Regions from separate parts of the Homo sapiens genome. Here regions 1 and 2 are each linked to region 3. The links are contacts of gene promoters, found by promoter capture Hi-C in blood cells and fetal thymus (Javierre and others, 2016). All regions are on one chromosome and are shown on one strand. The core of a region is centred on a gene start or on the middle of the fragment in contact, and the rest is flanking DNA. Distances in the headings are between cores, read along the strand shown.

Region 1 (3,969 bases), core at 442-2,941, 71 kb after region 3:
TCTGGCAAAAAAGTTCATGATGTGAGTTTCCACATGCTGTTCTGTCCATCTGAGTGGGAGCTGCAAGTTAGTCCTACTTTCTATCCTCCACTTTTTCCTGTATGTGCTATACTTTTATGTGACTGGCAGTTCAGTAGATTTATTTACATCAGCATCACCACAAACATGTGAGTAATGCTTTTCACTGGGACATCATGATGGCTGTGAGGTCACTAGGCAATACGATTTTTTAAATGCCATTGTAACCTTATAGGACCACTATCATGTAGGCAGTTTGCTGTTGACTGAAACATCGTTAGGCAGTGCATGACTGTATCACAAATTTAATGGCTTAATACTCTTGGGCTGGGCGCGGTGGCTCACACCTGTAATCCCAGCACTTTGGGAGGCCGAGGCGGGCAGATCACCAGGTCAGGAGATCGAGACCATGGTGAAACCCCGTCTCTACTAAAAATACAAAAAAAAATTAGCCAGGCGCGATGGCGGGCGCCTGTAGTCCCAGCTACTCAGGAGGCTGAGGCTGGAGAATGGCATGAACCCTGGAGGCGGAGCTTGCAGTGAGCCGAGATCGCCTCACTGTACTCCAGCCTGGATGACAGAGTGAGACTCCATCTCAAAAAACAAGAAACAATACTCTTGTATTATCTATCTCACAGTTATGTAGAGAGAACCATGAGCTTGACCAGGTATTCTCTTTAGAGTATTACAAGACTGGAATCAAGATGTTGACAGGTTTGTATTTCTTTCTGGAGGCTGTAAGGACGAATCTGCTTCCAGTCTGCTTCCAGTCTCGTTCAGACTGTTGGCAGAACTCAGTTTTAAGTGGTTGTGGGACTGAGGTTCCCATTTCCTCACTGGCTGTTGGCCAGGGTGTCATTCTTAGATTTTAGAAATAACTCATGTTTCTTGGCATATGGCCCCACATCTTTAGTGCCAGCAACGGTGCAAGTCCCTTTCATGCTTCAAATTTCTGTGACTGTTCCTTCTCTTTCGTTTCTTCTCTGCTTCCAGCAGGAGAAAGTACTCTATTTTTAAGGGCTTAATGTGATTAGATTGGGCCTACCTACATTATCAAAGATAATCTCCCCATCTCAAGGTCCCTTTTGCCATGAAATTTAATGTATTTACAAGTTCTGGAGATTAAAGCCAGCACATTTGTGGGGAGTCGTTATTCTTCCCACTACATTTTAAGGTTCCTTTGAAGTATTATCATGGTTCAGTTTTGAATGAGATTTTTATTTTTATTTTTACAGGTTTTTTATGTTAACTTTGGTGACCTTTTGTGTACTTTACATGAAACACCTTATATATTAAGTACTGGGGATTCGTTCTATGTTCCTTCAGGTAAGACAATTTATTTCACTTAGACAACATGTATATAGTTGTTTTTGGGCACTATGGAAATGGAAGCCACAGTGGTCAAAATGAAGTGTGATATGACTGATGGATGTCAGAACAGTTTGGTACATATTTTCCTTTCATTTGATCATTAGGTAAGTGTATTAGCATTTTGTGGTGGTTTTTTTTTGTTTTTGAGACAGAGTCTTGCTCTGTCACCCAGGCTGGAGTGCAGTGGCACGATCTCAGCTCACTGTAGCCTCCACCTCCTGGGTTCAAGCGATTCTTGTGCCTCAGACTCTCGAGTAGCTGGGACTACAGGCACGAACCACCACATCCGGCTACTTTTTGTATTTTTAGTAGAGGCGGGATTTTGCTATGTTAGCCGTAACAGATCACCTGACCTCAAGTGATCTGCCCACCTTGGCCTCCAAAGTGCTATGATTACAGGTGTGAGCCACAGTGCCCAACCAATTAGTGTTTTGATACATGAGAACAAGAGTTGTTTACTACTGAATATGAAAATATTGGCTGGGCATGGTGGCTCATGCCTGTAATACCAGCACTTTAGGAGGCCAAAGTGGGCAAATCACAAGGACAGGAGATCGAGACCATCCTGGCTAACACAGTGAAACCCCATCTCTACTAAAAATACAAAAAAATTAGCTGGGCGTGGTGGCGGACACCTGTGGTCCCAGCTACTCTGGAGGCTGAGGCAGGAGAATGGCATGAACCTGGGAGGTGGAGCTTGCAGTGACCAGAGACTGCACCACTGCACTCCAGCCTAGGGGACAGAGTGAGACTCGGTCTCAAAAAAAAAAATACATTTATGTATATAGTCAGCAGATATGTTGTATTACAGAGGAGAACAAAAATTATTTACCCCATGTTATCTCTAAGAAATTATGTTTTTAGAACATTATTTTAAACTGTTTCAAGAATGGTATGCTTCATCAGCTATCGAACAGCAGAAGTTATTGTAAATAGGCATTTTAATCCACTTGTCATTCATTCACTCATTCAACAAGTATGATTAAGAGACTACTATGGGCCAGGTGCAGTGGCTCACACCTGTAATCCCAACATTTTGAGAGGCTGAGGAGGGCTTGAGGTGAGGAGTTCGGGACCAGCCTGGGCAACCTAGGAAGACCCTGTGTCTACAAAAAATGCAAAAGTTAACCAGGCACGGTGATACACACCTATAGTCCTAGCTCTCGGGAGGCTGGGACAGGAGGACTGCATGAGCCCAGGAGTTCAAAGTTGCGGTGAGCTGTGATTGTACTACTGCACTCCAGCCTGGGTGACAGAGCAAGACTCTGTCTCAAAAACAAAAACAAAACAAAGTGTCTACTATGTCCATGTATTGCTGCAAGATTTGGGATATATAAATGAAAAAACAGGCAAAAATCCCTGCTTTTATAGAGCTTACATTCTGTTGGAAGGAGACAATAATAATAGCCATACTTGCATAATCCTTAGTATGTCAGCACTGTTGTGAATACTTTCTCAATTTCTAATATATAGAAAGTCACAGTGATAGTACTCAATTCTAATAAGCCTGTCACATGTGATACTTGCGGTCCATCTGTATTTCACTTTTGCTGTTATTTGTTACCTCATTTATTTAAGAGTAGCATTTGCCTTTTTAAAATTTTGAGATTTTGGCCGGGCGCGGTGGCTCATGCCTGTAATCCCAGCTCTCAGGGAGGCAAGAGGCGGGAGGATAGCTTGAGCCCAGGAGTTCGAGACCTGCCTGGGCAATATAGCGAGACCCCGTTCTCCAGAAAAAGAAAAAACAAAAACAAAAAATAAGTAAATAAATAAAATTTTGAGATTTTATTCTACTTAACATTGTACCTTTTATATTCATCTATATATGAGTATGTCTGGTTAGAGGAATCCACAGCAGTTCTGTAGACCTAATAAAGATTGGTTTCAGAAAGAGATTTTCTTTTCTTACACTCTCGACTGATTCATCTCCGTATTTATTTTCATAACGATGTGAAATTTATATTTCTGTTCTCTCAAGCCTCATCTGGATCACGTGTCATGGTTAGCTGTTGATGTAGTTCATGGAATTAAATAAGTTACTTTAGGTTAGGTGAATTGTTTTTATCTTGTGTCCTATACTACAACTGTCAGGTGATGACTACATACTTAATCAAAAAGAATGATTCATATGTAAATAATTTTTATTTTCTTATCACTTTACTTTTAGGTAACTATTATAACATCAAAAATCTCCGGAATGAGGAAAGTGTTCTTCTTTTTACTCAGATAAAAAGATGAAAGATCAACCAACCTTAAATATATGTATGTATATATGTATATGTGAAAAACAGTTTGTATAGTTGGAATATTTGTCTTTGTAATTACTTGTGATGTTTTAAAATAAAAATTTTATTCAGTTTTCTGTAGACTTGTATTTGATAAACATTTCTAACTCACATGTTTTTTCTGATTTTTCAGTGACTGTACATAATAGCTTGTAGCGATGTCCATATTTATGATATTATTTTTATAATTTGACAAGAATATGAAAATGAAATATAGAACATTTCTGTGTCAAAAGAGACCTGATTAATATGTCTACTCATTAAAAAACATCTTTTCCAAATACTAATTTTAAAT
Region 2 (3,589 bases), core at 886-3,385, 91 kb before region 3:
GATACGTAGACAGGTATGTTCTTGAAATTCATGTTCCTACAGAATTGTCTTTAGTTTTCACTTCTGTTTCCCACATTACTTATTGAAAAGTTACGGAATTATCTGATTATTCCTTATGTTCCTATTGTAGTACTCCTCAAACACAAACCCTTTGATGATTTCTCATTATACTTAGAATGAAATTCAAAATCTGTAACATAACCTAAATGTTTTTCATGGAGTACTTTTCACCTGTTCACCATGCCAGAGTAACATTTACCAGTCTTCCTTGGCTCCCCTTATTCTAGCTGTATGTGCCTTTCAGTTTTTTGGCTGTCTTTTGTTTTTTCTGAATTGTAAAGCTATTTTTAATACTTTGGGGTGAGTCCCACTGCAATAGAAAACATAGAAGGAGTAACTCCTTCACCCCCAGAAATGCCCCAGGAGAGAAAGGCTACCTGAGAAGGAAGCACAAAAAGGACCCACTGCAAACTCAGGGCAAAGGGAATGCCATCAGTCCTGGGTCCTGTGAGTACTAGAGGAGGAAACGTGAGCATGGTGGGACTGGCTTCAGGCACAGAGGCGAAGGGCACGGGGGTGGACACCAAACCACAAAGCTACTTAGGTTCTTCCTTCTCGTTTTCCCTTTTCTGCTTCAGCTGCATGGTCTTCAGGTCCCTCTGCTTGTGGGCAGCAGCAGAAAGTCTGTCTTCTTGGCACTTTCCCTTAACTGTTTGCATATTCTTCTGTTTTTTCATGTTCTTCTACCAGGCAAGCTCATGCTGGTTACCCGCAGCAGCTCTGACCTGCCACCCCTCCTTCTGTCTGTGCCTTTTCCTTACCAGGCCTTCAGCACTTTTTTACCTTAGAGACTTGCACACAGTATTCTTCAGCCTCAGGAAGTTCTGTTTTTCTTGCTTTAACATTCCTGATCTCTAATCTACCTATCTACTCTTCATCTAGTTTAGCTTTTTTTCTTCATCCTTTCAGTTTCAGCCTAAATTTCTTTTTATTTATTTATTTATTTATTTATTTATTTATATTGATCATTCTTGGGTGTTTCTCGCATAGGGGGATTTGGCAGGGTCATAGGACAATAGTGGAGGGAAGGTCAGCAGATAAACAAGTGAACAAAGGTCTCTGGTTTTCCTAGGCAGAGGACCCTGTGGCCTACCGCAGTGTTTGTGTCCCTGGGTACTTGAGATTAGGGAGTGGTGATGACTCTTGACGAGCATGCTGCCTTCAGGCATCTGTTTAACAAAGCACATCTTGCACCGCCCTTAATCCATTTAACCCTGAGTGGACACAGCACACGTTTCAGAGAGCACCGGGTTGGGGCTAAGGTCATAGATTAGATCAACAGCATCCCAAGGCAGAAGAATTTTTCTTAGTACAGAACAAAATGGAGTCTCGTATGTCTACTTCTTTCTACACAGACACAGCAACAATCTGATTTCTCTATCTTTTCCCCACATTTCCCCCTTTTCTATTCTACAAAACCGCCATCGTCATCATGGCCCGTTCTCAATGAGCTGTTGGGTACACCTCCCAGACGGGGTGGCAGCCGGGCAGAGGGGCTCCTCACTTCCCAGAAGGGGTGGCTGGGCAGAGGCGCCCCCACCTCCCGGACGGGGCAGCTGGCCAGGTGGGGGCTGGCCCCCACCTCCCTCCCGGACGGGGCGGCTGGCCGGGCAGGGGCTGCCCTCCACCTCCCTCCAGGGCTGGGCGGCTGGCCAGACGGGTGCTGCCCCCCACCTCCCTCCCGGACGGGGCGGCTGGCCGGGTGGGGGCTGCCCCCCCACCTCCCGGACGGGGCGGCTGCCGGGCGGAGACGCTCCTCACTTCCCAGACGGGGTGGCTGCTGGGCGGAGGGGCTCCTCACTTCTCAGACGGGGCGGCAGGGCAGAGACGCTCCTCACCTCCCAGACAGGGTCGCGGCCGGGCAGAGGCGCTCCTCACATCCCAGATGGGGCGGTGGGGCAGAGGCGCTCCCCACATCTCAGACAATGGGCTGCTGGGCAGAGACACTCCTCACTTCCTAGACGGGATGGCGGCCGGGAAGAGGCGCTCCTCACTTCCCAGACTGGGCAGCCGGGCAGAGGGGCTCCTCACATCCCAGACGATGGGCGGCCAGGCAGAGACGCTCCTCACTTCCCAGACGGGGTGGCGGCCGGGCAGAGGCTGCAATCTCGGCACTTTGGGAGGCCAAGGCAGGCGGCTGGGGGGTGGAGGTTGTAGCTAGCCGAGATCACGCCACTGCACTCCAGCCTGGGCAACATTGAGCACTGAATGAAGGAGACTCTGTCTGCAATCCCAGCACTTCGGGAGGCCGAGGCTGGCAGATCACTCACTGTTAGGAGCTGGAGACCAGCCCGGCCAACACTGCAAAACCCCGTCTCCACCAAAAAAATATGAAAACCAGTCAGGCGTGGCGGTGCGCGCCTGCAATCGCAGGCACTAGGCAGGCTGAGGCAGGAGAATCAGGCAGGGAGGTTGCAGTGAGCTGAGATGGCAGCAGTACAGTCCAGCTTCGGCTCGGCATCAGAGGGAGACCATGGAAAGAGAGGGAGAGGGAGACCGTGGGGAGCGGGAGCAGGAGAGGGAGAGGGACCTAAATTTCTTTATCAAAACAGACTTTCTTTTCCCCCAAATTCTAAATTAAATCCTCCTATGGTGATTTTCATAACACTATGTACTTTTTCCTTCATGGCACTCATTTTTACTGATATGCATATTTATTTAATGTTTGTGTCCTCACTAAATCATTCATCCAGGGACCATTTACTTTCCGTCATTGTATCCTCAGTGCCCAACATATGATGTCATTTAGTAAATATTCCTTAAATAAGTAGATGAATGAATGACTATAAATGTGTTCACCTTACATCTTTATATGACTCCTCAATGTTAGGGTGTAGAGCAGATATATTAACAGGGGAGAATTTATCAGTTGAAAAATGTGAAAAGTATGTAATCTTGGGCCAAAGAGGGGAAGAAAATAAAACTTTAAAAAATAAAAATTTGTAGAATATAGGTATTGTAAGTGTTGAGAAAGAAGATTAATATTATTTGGGATAAAGAAAATATTGAGAAGAGATAGTGTGGTAGAACTTGTAGTTAGAAAATAACCAAAGAAGAAATATAAAGCAAGGGAAAAGGAGTAATATTGTTAGGAATTAACCTAGAGATAAAGGTTAAGAAAGCCCCAGATTTAGGGTACTACTAGATGTATATGTATATTGCAGAATAGGGGAACAGGAATGATCCACTGTTTGATAGTAGTATATCTGTTTTCCTAAAATACTGCATTCAAGAAGTGATCAGTATGTGAAATGGTCAATAGAAAGTTGTAGGTTGTCCTTTGGTTACATTGTTATTGCTCACTTTTTTGTTTTTTACTTGCTGTCTTTTCAAATAGTCGTTGCTTAGCAAATCTAAGGCCTCTTTTAGATTCTGGAACAATGGGCACTAAGGGACACACTGAAGTTATTGTACCGCATTTGACTGAGTCTTACAATAGTCATGTAAGTGAATCAATATTTTGAAATAGATGTCTTTTTTATATCTTGTAATTTTTGTCTTAATCAACAATTTGATTTAGCTTTCCTAA
Region 3 (3,733 bases), core at 869-3,368:
TTTTAAATTATGTACCTAAAACCATAAGTAACGAAAAGTTTTTTTTACTTCTCTTTCAAGCCAAATTTCTGGATACTTTATGTTCCCATATACACATCTAATTATGTATATGTTAATACTTCCATATACTGATATGTAAATACACACATGCACACACACCCCTTAACTAGGTAAGTAGTTGTGAAAGAAAACTTCAAGATTGTCCTAGCAGTTCATAAGAAGTAATCTTTGATGTATTTTGGGGGGAGATTTATAACGACAAACTTGGGTTTTTAAATAAATATTACTCCCCCCATTAATTAGCAATCCTATTTTAGGATACTAAAACCATGGTGGGCTATTAAGTACTACAACAAGTACATATGGAAGTAAAACGTTTCTCTGGAAACTGTGGAGTCTCCACAACTGTTTTTATAAGAGTACTGCTCTATTTTCTTTAGAACAGTTAATCCTCAACGCCCTCTGTGGCCTGCTTTCTGCAGCAGCACAAGCCATTGCATTCCAAATTTCTCAAAATAAGTGTGGGACTTAGTTTCCAGTGGAAGCAGGAGGATATAATTTTACATGTGGGACTTTACATCTATAATCGTGCTTGCTAAAATTTCTTACCCAGAGGCAAAGAGTGTAGTGATTAAGAGCTCAGTTGTGGAGTGAGAATTCTTGGGATAATAACCCATCCTACCATTTAGTGGTGATGTGATCTTGGGTAAGACACTTAGCTCTCTGTGTTTCAGTGCCCTTGTTTATAAAACAGGAATATTAATTGTTCTCTTCAATGCATGCAAAGCATTTCAGAACTGGGCATAGAGTATGCAGTCAATAAATGTTAGTGTTTATCATTATCTATTCCAAATGTGACAGCACCAAATTATAAGTTGGACTGATTGGCAAAACTGCCAAACATAGTAAAAAACTCTCCATAATGATTCCAATAGCTTTATTATTGAATTCTTACTATGTTCCAAACATTGTGCTTAGATCTTAACAGGAATTATTCAATTACAACATCTCAACCACTTTAATAGTATTCTCATTTTGCAGACAAGAGAATTAAGGAACAGATAACTTAGTTGCCCATAATGGCAGAATTAATGGAATGGAGTGCAATCCAGGCCTAATTTCAGTCAGAGATCATAGTTCCTTTTTTTCTATCAAAAAAATAAATAAAATAAAAAAATTGGCCTTCATAGTTGACAGCATTTGTTAAAGCACTACATGTTTTAAAAATCTATTAGCTCAACTCCTGATTAATGTATTTATTCAATTAGTAAACTATTTTCTGATTAGAATTTTCTTGTAATTTTAAATTAAATAATAAAATAAGATACAGCTTCATAGAATCATACACTGGTCAGGTGAGAAGTCTTCAGAGCGTCTAATTTAGACTTCCATTCTATCACTATGGAAACACCCAGAATGGTGCCGCAATTTTGCCCTCCATAACATAGCTAGTCAATGGCTGGCAGGTTTCAGGATTCTGTATAGAATTCTTTTCAGTGCATCATACTTAAATGATAGATATTTACGTGGGTCATTTGTTGGCAATGCATCATAAAAATATCGCCCACATACTTGAAAAAGAATACAAGCCATCATCACCATTATTATACATAATTATTCAATTATTTTCAGAGATGATGGTTAGATGGGCTGGGCGTGGCTGACGAATCTGCATTAGAAAAATCTCTTCAAAAAAAGATTCTATTAAAAAAAAAGTCGTCTGCAATTTCTACCTCTCATCCTTCCAAGTATTACTTATTATTCCTTAATAGAACTGTTGAGAAGTTTTACATTGGGCACAAGGAGCGGTTCCCAGGATCGTGCCTTCCTAATAAAAGCCCAGTCTCGCGCCTGTCCCGGGCGCGGCGCTGAGGAAGGGAGGTGGGAAGAGCAGAGCGGCTAGAGGTAGGGCGGGCGGGTGGGTCTGCAGGCTGGAGGGCCGTTGGCCTGGAGCATGAAGGGGCGAGCCCACTAACGGCTTGCTTCCTATTGGACGGCGCGGCCCGTTTTGCGCATGTGTCTCCGGGTTCAAACCCAGGCACAGGCCAAGCGTTCTTGTTTGTTGAGGGCGGAGCCAATGGCGGGGGAGTGTTGTTAGCGCGCGCCTTCCGGATCGCAGCTCTCGCGGCAGTCGCCTGAGACTTAAGGTTATTGCTTGGCCGCGGCCTGGTATTCCGGCGATTCGTTTCTTGCTCGGCTTCCTGGAGCTGTGGTCCGTGTGGGCTTCCACCTCAGACAGTTGCGCTGGCTCAGCGGGGCCGGAACATGGCTGCGTCCGGTCTGGTAAGTGCAGGCCCCCCGCTCCAGGCGAGTGGTTGAGCGGCTGGCTGGGGCACGGGCGCCCGAGGCTGGGGAGAAGGAAATGCTAGGCTGAGGCTGTGATCTCTGAGGGATTTCAGTGGGAAAGCCGCAGGAATTTTTGAAATCAAGTGTGATCGTGTGTCGATAACCAGAGTTAATTTACTGTACTTTTATTATTTCTTAAGTTTTCATGTCGTCATTTCGTCTGTGCCTACGTCTTACTCTTGAGAGGTGCTTGTGATTTCTGCTGGGTTTTTTTTTGTTTTTGTTTTTGAGACGGGGTCTTGCTCTGTCCCCCAGGCTGGAGTGCAGTGGCGCGATCTTGGCTTCTGCTTTTTAGTCTAGCTCCAGTTCCTAGGCCTCCAAATAACTTTTCTCCCCATGGTAGAAGTATTGAAACGCCTTAAAAGTGTGTCTTTGCGTCACACTTGGTAGTTGGGAGAAACAGATTATGTAACAAGTACGTCTCGAAATAATTTGACGTTTTCAGTTCTTCTGTCAAAATGGTGGCCTTTTATGCAGTTCTTGAGGCTGATTTATGGAGCATATGTTATTGACAAACTCTTCTGAAAGACAGCTATCAGTTAAAAGGTACAAGCTGTGAATGACTAATGGGGGCGACAACTCATTTTGTTTACATATTTCTGGACTTCTTTGGTGTTCACTATTCTATATTTCATACTTTGGTTATGGTTACTATATAAAAATCCGTATCATTTCTTTTCTAATTTATCTCCCCTTCTAAGAAAATCTTCAGCTTCGATGATCTCCCATTATGTGACGTTATACATATAAACATAAAGAGTTGTATGAAAGAATAATATAATCTATACTTTTTACTATGAGCACATATATTGTTTACATTATATATAATCAGAAGAAAGCAATAAAGCCATTCTCACTGTGGGGAGAGAAGCGGAATAAAGCTTACCAGATGCCTGCAGTTCAGTTTTTAAATGCCTGTCATAACCTATGTTATGTCATAACATAACCTCAAAATTGTTTTGAGCCCTTAGGAGATGTTTGGTGTATAGCATGCCCATACTGGATGAAGTTACTTTGAAAATAAATTTTACTCGACTCTATCTTAAAGAAACCAAATTGATGATTTACTTTTCTTTCAGGATCATCTCAAAAATGGCTACAGAAGAAGATTTTGTCGACCTTCCAGGTGATTTACGTACTTAAGCTTTTAAGATTATTTTTATTCTCATCGTTAATAGATTTTTAAATGAAGAAAGGAAAAACTATCACCTCTGACTAATATAATGATTTCTGTGCCCACTGATTAAGGGTAGTCATCTTATACTAACGGGAATGTTAATGCAAGCAGTGCAATGACTTTGTGGCTGTGAAAAAAGAAATTCACCTGATAAAATAGTGGAACCAGGAAGAGGGAGTCTCAGTTCTGACTAAGTGACTGCCATGGGAA

The links. Contacts are between HindIII fragments. The CHiCAGO score rates a contact against its expected background, and 5 or more counts as called.
Region 1: a contact is called between a fragment that was not itself captured here and the fragment with the promoter of CENPC in region 3, in 1 of 17 cell types (monocytes). The highest score is 5.1, in monocytes.
Region 2: a contact is called between a fragment that was not itself captured here and the fragment with the promoter of CENPC in region 3, in 13 of 17 cell types (total B cells, naive B cells, activated CD4 T cells and 10 more). The highest score is 16.6, in total B cells.

The regions. Positions count from the first base shown.
Region 1 is chr4:67,472,263-67,476,231 of GRCh38, reverse strand. It overlaps CENPC (centromere protein C), which reads left to right. Exons shown (of 19, transcript NM_001812.4): 18 at 1,254-1,344; 19 at 3,557-3,969. The coding sequence ends at 3,627. Among named protein-coding and RNA genes, the nearest start is that of CENPC, 71 kb to the left of the region's middle. The HindIII fragment of the contact is 7,822 bases long and covers 1-3,969 here.
Region 2 is chr4:67,635,367-67,638,955 of GRCh38, reverse strand. UBA6 (ubiquitin like modifier activating enzyme 6) reads left to right here. Exons shown (of 33, transcript NM_018227.6): 19 at 1-13; 20 at 3,398-3,503. It also overlaps the pseudogene LOC107986207. Among named protein-coding and RNA genes, the nearest start is that of UBA6, 64 kb to the left of the region's middle. RefSeq lists a silencer at 532-581. The HindIII fragment of the contact is 7,169 bases long and covers 1-3,589 here.
Region 3 is chr4:67,543,888-67,547,620 of GRCh38, reverse strand. CENPC (centromere protein C) reads left to right here and starts at 2,118. Exons shown (of 19, transcript NM_001812.4): 1 at 2,118-2,283; 2 at 3,426-3,472. The coding sequence starts at 2,266. RefSeq lists a silencer at 1,834-1,973 and enhancers at 1,796-2,346, 2,124-2,363. The HindIII fragment of the contact is 5,245 bases long and covers 1-3,229 here.